Linked DNA regions of Homo sapiens: region 1 is linked to region 2. The links are contacts of gene promoters, found by promoter capture Hi-C in blood cells and fetal thymus (Javierre and others, 2016). All regions are on one chromosome and are shown on one strand. The core of a region is centred on a gene start or on the middle of the fragment in contact, and the rest is flanking DNA. Distances in the headings are between cores, read along the strand shown. Region 1 holds the start of SCGB1D4 (secretoglobin family 1D member 4). Region 2 holds the start of SCGB1A1 (secretoglobin family 1A member 1).

Region 1 (5,617 bases), core at 2,354-4,853, 120 kb after region 2:
AGTTCTGGCCAGGGCAATCAGGCAAGAGAAAGAAATAAAGGGTATTCAAATAGGAAAAGAGGAAATCCAATTGTCTCTGTTTGCAGATGACATGATTGTATATTTAGAAAACACCATCAACTGACAAAGAAGTGTATTTATCTCTGTGGTTTACAATAACTTTACCCTTCACCTTTTATTTTTGGTGAAAAACCTGGTTAGTAAGCAATTTTAATTATGTTCCAGCTGTGGATCCTAGGACCCAGACAGAAGTGCAGATAAAGTCTGACTTTTCAGCTTCTAGCTCCATGAGTCCCAGGCCTTACCTATGTGTAAAGCAGGCAGTATATGACCTTGCAACATTTAGCAAACCTGGTATCTAAATTATATGATTTAGACAACCTATTTGCATTTTGATGACACTTGCCTTTTACTAATAATCCTTCAGACTATTTTTATTTCTTCAAGTCATGTGAACTAAAACATTTGATTGAAGCACTTATTTTTCTTTAAGCCAATCAATCAGAGCTCTTTTTATAGACATCACACACAGCACATATATAGCAACACTAAGAAACAGAAGATTCAGCACTTGTAAGATTTTTCACTTGGTAGTCTCTTAATTGGATTACTGGCTTTAGGGTGGAGCCCTTGAAGGAACAGGGCTATGTAGCATACCTAATAAACAGACGCAGCTGAAGGCAAAGGCAGATCCCTAAAATTAAGGGTGCCATTTTATACCTGATCTTGGGTCCCTAAAAGGAGGGAGATACTATGGGAGAAGACAGTGTAGTGGTTCTATCACGTATTTCACTGCAAGGGAACCCAAAGCCAATTGGCTTATTCTGTAATGAGCCCATTCCCCATGGGAGTCTCGTCTCTTAGTTGGGGGTGAGGATGTTGCCATATCTTTCAGGTGGCCAAGAGCACGCTTCTTTGATTATAACTACTATTAGCCATCCCTAACATTGAATTTTCTATCTAGTTATTACACACCGAAGCTCTCTCATAGTGTGAAGTAATTTGACACCCCCAAAACTCAAAATGGTAGATTACACAATACATAACAGAACAGAGCCTTTGATTTTGAGAAGTAACTGCTTTTAATTTTGGGGGTTTCATGAGGAAAACAGTTTTTTTTTTTTCCCCAAAATGGGGTCTGTGGTGCCTCCTCTGTTTTTCCCAAGGAGTCCCATGCTACCAGAAGTTATCTTAGGGCTTCTCATGCTTGCATTAAGAATGGTAAGATGAAAAATGGAGAAAAATAATTCAGTTGATTGAAAAGAAAAGAGCCTTTTTCCCAAAAAACAAGATTCAACAAGAGAAAAGCATAAAGACCTTTTCAATATACCTATAACTTGAACATATCCACTTTTAATTAAGCTGAGCACTTTTAAAGAAAATCCTTTTAAATTCCTTGTTACTTGAGATTGCTGCAAATGAGAGGTGCATGGTTCCAGCAGAGTCTATGAAGGGGAGTATTGAACAAGTCATCGGGGTCAGGCAACGATGTCCATGGATGGAAAGAATAAACTAAAATCTTGAGTCAATTGTGTAAAAAGGAGGGAGCCATAAAAAGCATCAATGATGAAAACAAAAAAACCCTGCATAGGTGTTAATCGTGGTAGGACTAATAAAAGTATACGCAAACAATCCTCTGTCAGAGATACACATGCTCCCCAATGGACTGTACAGATGACAAGGTGAATGTCAAGCCTGAGTGAGGATAAACTCTCATCCACAAAAAGGGTGGATGCTTCACAGACCTGTCTACTGCAAAAGAGGCCTCAGTCCTGAAGCCCATATTCATGGGTTTGCAGCCTCCAAGACCATGAGCTGGGTTTCCTTTTCCATTTATGTCAAAGAGAAATGGTGTATCTAGGTGTCCGTGTAGTTCTGCAAGTAGGTGATTTAGTGGATTTTGGCTGTGCTCTAAACTAGGAACTACTGGCAAACCATGACATATATGACAAATGGGACAAGATAATGGCAGTTTACATTGAGAACTACTATGTACCAGAACTTGGTATATTTTAAACACACACACACCCATGAACACACTCATTTGATCATCTATCAACCCAATGATGTAGGCACCATTAGTAGCCTACTTTGACAAATGAGAAAACTGGGGTTACATAAACTGAATAATTTTCCTAAGGTCCAGGAGCCCATAAATGAGGATCTGAACCCTCATAGCTGTAAACCTCACCACCAACCCTCCCCCTCCTTGGTGGCAGCAGGGCTGATTCAGGGACTCCGTCGTCATCCTGTGTGATGAAAGTGAGATCCACTGTTGCCCTCAGCTTGGACTCAACTAAATCTGTCAATGTGTCTTTGATGACAAAACCCGTAAGGTCCCCTTCCTTCTTAAAGGTTTTCCTGGCTGGATCTCAGCCCTGCTGTCTGTGAGAAACACCAGAGCAGTTTAAACAGTACAGAAAGGAGGGATTCACCCCAATGCTACTGAATCAAAATCGCCAGAGAGAGAAGCCTGTGGGGTCAGTATGTTTTAAAAGCTCCAAGTGATTTGACTACATAGCTGAGAATGGAAAGCTATGGCCTGGGCTGTGACTCCTCTCAAATGTAAGTTTATTTAAGAGAAAAATTTCTGGTGATTAAACTCACACCACATGAAGGCACGGCAATGGGAGGGAAGGCGGGTGTGTATTGCTTTGTCTGGGGGCTTCCTTCACTTTCCCTTAAAAATGGGATTGGCCCAGGCAGCACAGATAGGTTTGAAGTGGAAAACTTGAGCCTAGGGGTTAGGGGGAAGTGACCACCCACCCTGTTCCTCTGTCTCTTCCCTTCTATTATCTTCCCAGCCTAGAGCCCCACTGATGTATGATTGGCTCTGAACACTCCAAAAGCTCTTGAGAAAAAGAGTTAGGTTATTTAATCTTCAGATCAGCCCTAAGATAAGACGTGGGTGGCTACACATCACAGAAAGCTTGCTTTTTATAGATAGAAAATGTGAATCTTGGCCATATATATAACTGCACGTATAAACAAGATTCAGGTTTGGGAGTGAGGCAGGCTAGAGAACAGGTGCAGCAGATGTTTTTCCTCAGCATATCTTCTACAGGTGGGATGTATTCAACTATGTTTTCAGTACCTATGCAGTGAACATGGTGGTGATGGAAGGGGCTGAGGGGAAGGATTAGACTTTCCCAATGTGCAACTGAAACAAGCCTGCTTGTTGTCAGACATGCAGGGGGATCAAAGCAGGGTCTCCTTATGTCCCTGCTCTCCCATAAAGAGAACACAGCCTTCCAGCTTCCTGTGCCTTGTGAAGCCATAATTCACCTGTGCCCCTGCACTGCTACAAAGATAAAAAGAACTAATCAGCAAAAGCTCATAAGGAAATTGAGGATCCCAGGAACATTTCCAGATGTACCTGAACACTCACCTGGAGCACAGAGCAGAGTTCTCACAAGGCTGCTGTCTTGTGCTCCGCCCCACTCAGATGCAGAGATTCCTAAGGAGGTGACATTGATGGACGGCAGCAGCCCTGGCTTGGAAGGGCGGGCTGGGAGCCAGGCCTCATGACCTACCAGGTGCCCCGGTAGGTAGGACCAGCCAGGCTCCCTAGGTACAAATAGCCCTGGCCTCCATGACTACACAGGCTCCTGGAGTCGAATCCAAATCACTCATTGTGAAAGCTGAGCTCACAGCCGAATAAGCCACCATGAGGCTGTCAGTGTGTCTCCTGATGGTCTCGCTGGCCCTTTGCTGCTACCAGGGTGAGTACATCAGTCATGAGTCCAGCACCAGCCCCTGGGATGCACCCTCTTCTGAGCACAAGATCACCTATTTGTGCTTTGGGTTGGGGTCTGCACAAAACCAAACAAAATTCCAAACCCTTTTCTGTGCTTGTTGAATAAGATTCATAAAGGTTAGAGCTATTTCTTCTTTCTTCTTCCTTTTTTTTTTTTTTTTTTTGAGAAGTTTTGCTCTTGTTGCCCAGGCTGGAGTGCAGTGGCATGATCTTGGCTCACTGCAACCTCTGCCTCCGGGGTTCAAGTGATTCTCCTGCCTCAGCCTTCCTGAGCAGCTGGGATTACAGGCATGGGCCACCACAGCTGGCTAATTTTGTATTTTTAGTAGAGATGGGGTTTCTCCATGTTGGTCAGGCTGGTCTCGAACTCCCGACCTCAGATGATCTGCCCGCCTCGGCCTCCTAAAGTGCTGGGATAACAGGCATGAGCTACTGCGCCTGGCTGCTTAGAGCTATTTCTTCTAATCCCCAGTATCTAAGAAGTTTTATAGAAAAATCAGTTCAGGCAAATGTTAGGAATTCTTCTGCCTGAGCTTCACTTCTGAATGGGATCTGTGTCAGATGATGTAATGTGAGGTCTGGGGTGAACCTGGGCTTCGACACTTCCCACCCCTTGATCTTGGGCACAATGCTCACCCTCCTTGAGCCTCCTCTTATCACTGGTGGTTAAAGCTTCTGCCAGGAGTGGCTATGAGAATGAAGTAAGGTTATGGTTGTCAAGAGTCAAGCTGTGGGCCAGGCATGGTGTCTCATTCCTGTAATCTTAGCACTTTGGGAGGCCACAGTGGGCAGATCACTTGAGCTCAGGAGTTCAGCACCAGCCTGGGCAACATGGCGAAACCCCATCTCTACAAAAAAAAAAAACAAAACAAAACACACACACACACACACACACACACACACACACACAAAAGCGGGCATGGTGGCAGGCACTGGTAGTCTCAGCTACTTTGGGGGCTGAGGGAGGATCGCTTGAGCCCAAGACATTCAGGCTGCAGTGAGCCGAGATTGTGCCACTGCATTCCAGTCTGGGTGAACCTATCTCAAAAAAAAGAAAAAGAAGTCTAGCTGAGGATATGAAGCTCTTCCCTTTGTTGTGTGACCCGGAGAAAGTCACACCTGGAGTTTCTGGTATTGTCATCAGCACAATAATGGTATAGAAACATAGAACCCAGGGGATCCTGTCTGGTGTAACCTCAGGGAGCCATGAGAGAAAAATCGACTTTCCTAACATCAACAATATTTTTATTTTTGTGCTGCAGCCCATGCTCTTGTCTGCCCAGCTGTTGCTTCTGAGATCACAGTCTTCTTATTCTTAAGTGACGCTGCGGTAAACCTCCAAGTTGCCAAACTTAATCCACCTCCAGAAGCTCTTGCAGCCAAGTTGGAAGTGAAGCACTGCACCGATCAGATATCTTTTAAGAAACGACTCTCATTGAAAAAGTCCTGGTAATTTCTTTCTCCTTTATGCAGAGGCAGAATTCAACTCAGCTGCACACAGCCTCCTGCATGTTTCTTGTCAGGTCACCTGCCTGGATGCTGTGTCCCCAGAGTGTGCTGAGGACATGGGGAGTGAGCTAGGGCCAAGGCAGGGATGGTGAAGGGCCAAGCACGGCCGCCTCCCTGCTGGGATCTTTCCTGAGGTCAACCTACCCTCACGCAGTGGACACGGTCACTATGGGATGTCCCAGGGAGTGTGGGAGATTTGAACAGGGAGAGGAGGCTTGAGGGGACCTAGAGCTGGGCCTCCCACAGACAGGGTGCTGGTGAACTGGGCTCCTGTGCAGCTTCTGCAGAGCCAGGAGCCCCTTGCAGCTCCTCAGGGCCCACTATCCACTCCTCATCCATGACACTCTCCTG
Region 2 (5,742 bases), core at 646-3,145:
AGTCTCGCTCTATTGCCCAGGCTGGAGTGCAGTGATGCCATCTCGGCTGACTGCAACCTCTGCCTCCCAGGTTCAAGTGATTCTCCTGCCTCGGCCTCCCAAGTAGCTGGGACTACAGGCATGCGCCACCATGCCTGGCTAATTTTTGTATTTTTAATAGAGACAAGGTTTCACCATGTTGGCCAGGTTGGTCCTGAACTCCTGACCTCAAGTGATCTACCCACCTCGGCCTCCCAAATTGCTGGGATTACAGGCGTGAGCCACCGTGCCTGGCCCAATATCCCTACTTCATAGGGTTGTTGTAAGAATAAAAAGAGAGGCCAGGCATGGTGGCTCACGCCTAATCCCAGCACTTTGGGAGGCCTAGGTGGGTGGATCACGAGGTCAAGAGATGGAGACCATCCTGGCCAACATGGTGAAACCCTGTCTCTACTAAAAATACAAAAATTAGCTGGGTGCAGTGGTGCGTGCCTGTAATCCCACCTACTTGGGAGGCTGAGGCAGGAGAATCGCTTGAACCCGGGAGGCGGAGGTTGCAGTGAGCTGAGATCGCGCCACTGCACTCCAGCCTGGCAACAGAGCGAGACTCTGTCTCAAAAAAAAAAAAAAAAAAGAATGAAAAGAGATATTATGTGAAAGGGTGACAGTGATTGGCACATTGTGTGAAGTAAGTGTTAAATATTGTATGCATGTGCACACAAATAGACAAATGCATCTCTGACCCACCCCTTAACATGTTGCAGTCCTATCTTGCTCAGCCACCCACCTCTGTACGCAGACAGCACTGAGATCTTCTAATTAATACACATTTCAGTCCAAAATGATGTCATTTTCTCTGAAAAACAAATAAACCTCTCTGCAAAATAGTTGTTCCTACTGCTTCTTGGTTTGGGTTTTCTAACTCCCCAGGGTCATAAAACTTATCTCCATGGGTGTTGTGAAGCTTTCCAAGTGAATTAATTGGAGTTTGTTTATTAAAAAATAACAACAGCATTTTCAGATGAGAATGGAAGAGGCTGACGCAGAGTGAAAAACAGAGTTAGATAACCCAGTTCCCCAAAGACGGGGGATCTTGGAGAGAGCTGTGATCCTTCTTTCCTTCCTTTCTCCCCCTCTCTCCGTCTCTCTTTCTGCCCCTCTTCCCCCCACAGTTCTTTTCCTTTTAGTGACAGCAGCAACTACTCAGAGACTCCTAATCCCTTTTGCAGAGGACGGAAATGTTTAGAAAACTTCACTCTGGGTTGGCAGTTCCCCAAAGGGAAGCTCTCTTTCTGGAATATTCCTCTGTGCCCAGAATGAGAGACCTTGTCTTGGGTTGGGTTTCTTTTGGGGTCACGAGTCCCTGCAGCTCCCCTTCCAGTGACTTCAGCTGCCAGCATGGAGTGGAGACCCCAGACTTGGAGGCTGCACCAAGGTCTCAGCATCTTGGAGTCTGTCCAGATCTGGGATGAGGGCCTCATTATTCCTATGCTGGATGTACTCATCTTTATGGGGTATTCTCCACTCCTCCCTCCAGGCTATTCCATTCCCTGGGATTCTGAGGGTTGTTGGATATAGAAGATGGGACCCTTTTTAGGCTTCCTTACAGCCTGGGGCTCTCTCCAAGTTTCCAAGATGAGCTTGCTCACCAGACCCAGTTTTCTGAGACTCAGCATGCCCAGGTCCTCCCAGCAGCTCCAGAGCAGGAATGGGCAGCTCACTCCTTCTTCTGAGCAGAACTGGGGGGTCCTGAGAGTTCCTAAGTCCAGGAGGGAGGGAAGGGTCTCTGAGCACTCACCGGAGCTGCAGCAGAGAGCCAGTGTGACCAGGGTGAGGGTGACAGCGAGTTTCATGGTGGAGGAGGGGGATGCTCTGGCCCGTCTCTGGTTCCGTCTCTGAGTCTGGTGGGCTAGTATGAGACATGCCCAGCAAGGTGCCTTTTATATGCTCTAGGCAGCAGCACCCAGATGGGGAAGGGCAGGGCAAGGGCTCTACATAAGATACTGCACTATTTACTTGGCATTGGCTTGGTGGGATAGGTAAATATTCCCTTTTCTCAACCCAGTTTCTGTCCCCACTGAAACTGAGCTCACACAATGGGCCACTTGGGGGTGGAGGGCCGAGCCCTGCCTGGAGGCAGTGAAGGGAACCCAAGTCAGAGGATGTGGAAACCCAGCTGCCTGTGTCACTCACTGAACCTGGGCACTGGGGCAGTCCAGATCAAGAGAAGCAATTGTGGAGCCCACCTGGAGAAACTGAGGCCCAAGTTCCCTCACAAGTGGCAGGGACAGGACTAGGACTAGGACTCAGGACCCTGACACTCCACTGGGCTCTTTCATAGGCTCCCCTCTGAGGAGGGCGACTGAACCTTAAGCCAGGAAAGACACATGGTTTGGAGCATTGCTGTGGTCAGACTTCGGGGGCCCCTGGATTGAAGCATGTTGAATAAAAGGGACCCTTCCAGAATTCCCATCAGAAACCTGAGCCCTGCCCCAGGCTGGGTCTGTTCCCACCCAGAAGTGCTCTCAAGTCCTGTGCTCCTGATGGCCCAATTGGTGGGACCTTCAGTCCTTATCTCACTTGACCTCCCAATGGCCTTGACACCTGTGACTGCTTCCTTCTCGAACCATTCTCTCTCTTGCGCTCCCACGCCTCAGTTCTTTCCTGTTTTCCTTCTTCTGGCCATTCCTTCTTGTTCTCTTTAGATGTTTATTCTTTACTGTTCTTAAGTGTTGATGGTTCCCAGGCTTTGGCCTTCTCCCCTTTCTTGCCTCCAGTTGCCATTTCCTGGTTCTTCTCCAAAGCCCGGGCCTCATAGCACCTAACCTGGCCTGGTCAAAATCCCCTGACTCGACCTCCCTGCCTCCCTGCTAGCTCTCCTCAGCCATCCTCTGAAAGGCCATCAGAATGATCTTCCTAAAACCCACTGGTCGTGTCCTTCTTCTTGAAACCCTTAAACTCTTCCTTTTGCCTAAAGAATAAAATTCAAGTGCAATTTACAAGGCCCTTGCCCACTGACCTTTGCCTACCATTTGAACTTCATTTCTCCTCTCCCCCACACAACGACTTAGCCCTCTCTTACTATTTGTGGATTCGAGAATGTTCCATGTTTTTTCATGCCTTTCTACCTATGCACAAGCTAAGCCTCATGCCTGAATACACATTTCCTGCCTTGTCCACTTCGCCAAATTCTATTCGTACTTCAAGACTCAATCAAATATTGATCCATTCATTCATCCAATAAATGCTGACCACCTATGATGTGCCAGATGTGGTGCTAGGAGTCGGGAACTGGGGTAGATAGACATGGAGAGGCATTGCGTGGCACTTCAAGAACTCCTCAAAAATAAATAAATAAATAAAAATAAATAAACAAATAAAAGGCCAGACAGGGTGGCTCATGCCTGTAATCCCAGGACTTTGGGAGGCTGAGGCAGGTGGATCACCTAAGGTCAGGAGTTTGAGACCAGCCTGGCTGACATGATGAAACCCCGTCTCTACTAAAAATACAAAAATTAGCTGGATGTGGTGGTGGGCACCTGTAATCCCAGCTACTTGGGAGGCTGAGGCAGGAGAATTGCTTGAATCTGGGAGTCATAGATTGCGGTGAGCTGAGATCACGCCATTGCACTCCAGCCTGGGCAACAAGAGCAAAACTCCGTCTCAGAAAAAAAAAAAAAAAAGAAGGACCCCATTGTGCCTGAGGGCTTCGAAAGGGTTGCTGTGCCTGCAAAGGGGGCATTCAGGGGCCAGAGCACACAAGGCCTCGTTCTAAGGCCTTTACACTCAGAGTGGGAAGCTCTTGAAGGTTTTAATCAGGGAGTGACATGGTCTGATATCCCTTTCCTGATGAACTGACCCTGACTTGGGCAGCTGGGGGAATGGGGTGTTATTTCCTGACACAGAGAAGACTTGGGAAAAATAGGGTTGGGGGTGAAAATAGGGAGTGAAGCCTTCCCCGACAGGTGGTTCTGATGGGTGGTGACTCTCCCCATGGGCCTCTCTTCCCCCTCTGCTTACAGGGCCCATTATACAATATTTTAACTTTGCAATTCTTATTTTCTTGTATGACTCCTTTACTTGACTGACCTCCTTTAGGGCTGAGGCCGCTGTAAGCCAAGGTACGCAACGCTTGCTAAACAGGAATCCCTGGAATGAATCCATGCATGAGGCCTTTGTGCCATGTGACAGTTGAAGGCTGTGGTGACCCCGGAACCGTCCCACTCCGAGACGCCTTAACACCGGTAAGAGCACACGTTCTAAACTAGCAACCAACAAAGACTTGTCAAGTACGTTATGGTGTGTCCTTACAATGAAACGCTGTGTGGCTGAAAACAGAGAAAGAAGATCTTCTGAGCTGATGGTGAAATGATCTCCAAGGCAGACTGCAAAGGGGGAAAAACAAGGCATGAATAGAGCAAAAAAGAACAAAGAGAAGGCTGGGCGCGGTGGCTCACGCCTGTAATCCCAGCACTTTGGGAGGCTGAGGCGGGTGGATCACAAGGTCAGATTGAGACCATCCTGGCCAACATAGTGAAACCCCGTCTCTACTAAAAAAATACAAAAAGCTGGGTATGGTGGCGCTTGCCTGTAATCCCAGCTACTCGGGAGGCTGAGGCACGAGAATCACTTGAGCCCAGGAGGCAGAGGTTGCAGTGAGCCGAGATCATGCCACTGCACCTCCAGCCTGGTGACAGAGCATGACTCCGTCTCAAAAAAAAGCAAAAAGAATCCACATATGCATTTGCTTGTATTTGCATAAAGCATCTCAGAAGTGCCTTCTTTCTTTTAAGTTTCCTTCTGTGTCCCATCATCTGGGCTCTTGAGGTTAGCCCATCTTGAGGATTTCAGGTGTCTGCATCCCTCCCCTCTTAGGGACTGTTGAAAGGTGTAGCCTGCCTGTAACCCCAGCACTTTGGGAGGCTGAGGAGGGCAGATCAACTGAGGTCGTCGAGAGTTTGAGACCAGCCTGGCCAACATGGTGAAACCCCCTCTCTACTAAAAATACAAAAATTAGCCGGGCGTGGTGGCAGGTGCTTGTAATCCCAGCTACTTGGGAGGCTGAGGCAGGAGAATCACTTGAGCCCAGGAGGTGGAGGTTGCAGTGAGCCGAGATCACACCATTGCACTCCAGCCTGGACAACAAGAGCGAAACTCCATCTCAAAAATAAATAAATAAATAAACAAACAAACAAACAAAAGAAAGCTGTGGCCAATGGAGCTGAAATGGGCAAGGAAGATGAGCTGGACCACTGGGGGCACCTAAAGCCCATCCAGTGCCGCCACTAGTGGATCCCTCTGTGGGCAGTGGCTGGTCTGGCCGGGGCAGCTGTGATGGCTGCAGGGGTCTTAGGCAGGAGTCACATCACCCATAGCCTCAGACTCTGCTCTCTACTTTCCACCTTCATGGTGCGAGGTCCTGGGGACAGGATAGCTGGCTCCTGGGTCTTTGAGGAACTTAACAGCTAGGAGGAGAGACAGAGATGGGTGCAACTGATGGGAATGCTCTGTGGGGAGATGGAGGAAGTCAGAGAAGGAAATGGTGCTCCGGGAGTTGAAAGGGGGCTGCCCCCAGGCTGGGCGTGGTGGCTCATGCCTGTAATCCCAGCACTTTGGGAGGCCAAGGCAGGCGGATCACCTGAGGTTGGGAGTTCGAGACCAGCCTGAACAACATGGAGAAACCCTGTCTGTACTAAAAATACAAAATTGGCTGGGCTTGTGGTGGTGCTTGCCTGTAATCCCAGCTACTTGGGAGGCTGAGGC

Evidence for each region. The method cuts DNA at HindIII sites, captures the fragments that hold promoters and counts their contacts. A CHiCAGO score of 5 or more calls a contact.
Region 1: the fragment with the promoter of SCGB1D4 here is called in contact with the fragment with the promoter of SCGB1A1 in region 2 in 2 of 17 cell types (neutrophils and monocytes); the score reaches 15.4 in neutrophils.

What each region holds. Positions count from the first base shown.
Region 1 is chr11:62,297,061-62,302,677 of GRCh38, reverse strand. SCGB1D4 (secretoglobin family 1D member 4) reads left to right here and starts at 3,603. Exons shown (of 3, transcript NM_206998.2): 1 at 3,603-3,722; 2 at 5,020-5,206. The coding sequence starts at 3,668. The HindIII fragment of the contact is 1,500 bases long and covers 2,932-4,431 here.
Region 2 is chr11:62,415,186-62,420,927 of GRCh38, reverse strand. SCGB1A1 (secretoglobin family 1A member 1) reads right to left here and starts at 1,895. Exons shown (of 3, transcript NM_003357.5): 1 at 1,778-1,895. The coding sequence starts at 1,832. LOC102723765 (a long non-coding RNA gene) reads left to right here. Exons shown (of 4, transcript XR_007062699.1): 2 at 4,078-4,223. RefSeq lists a silencer at 2,577-2,871. The HindIII fragment of the contact is 29,364 bases long and covers 946-5,742 here.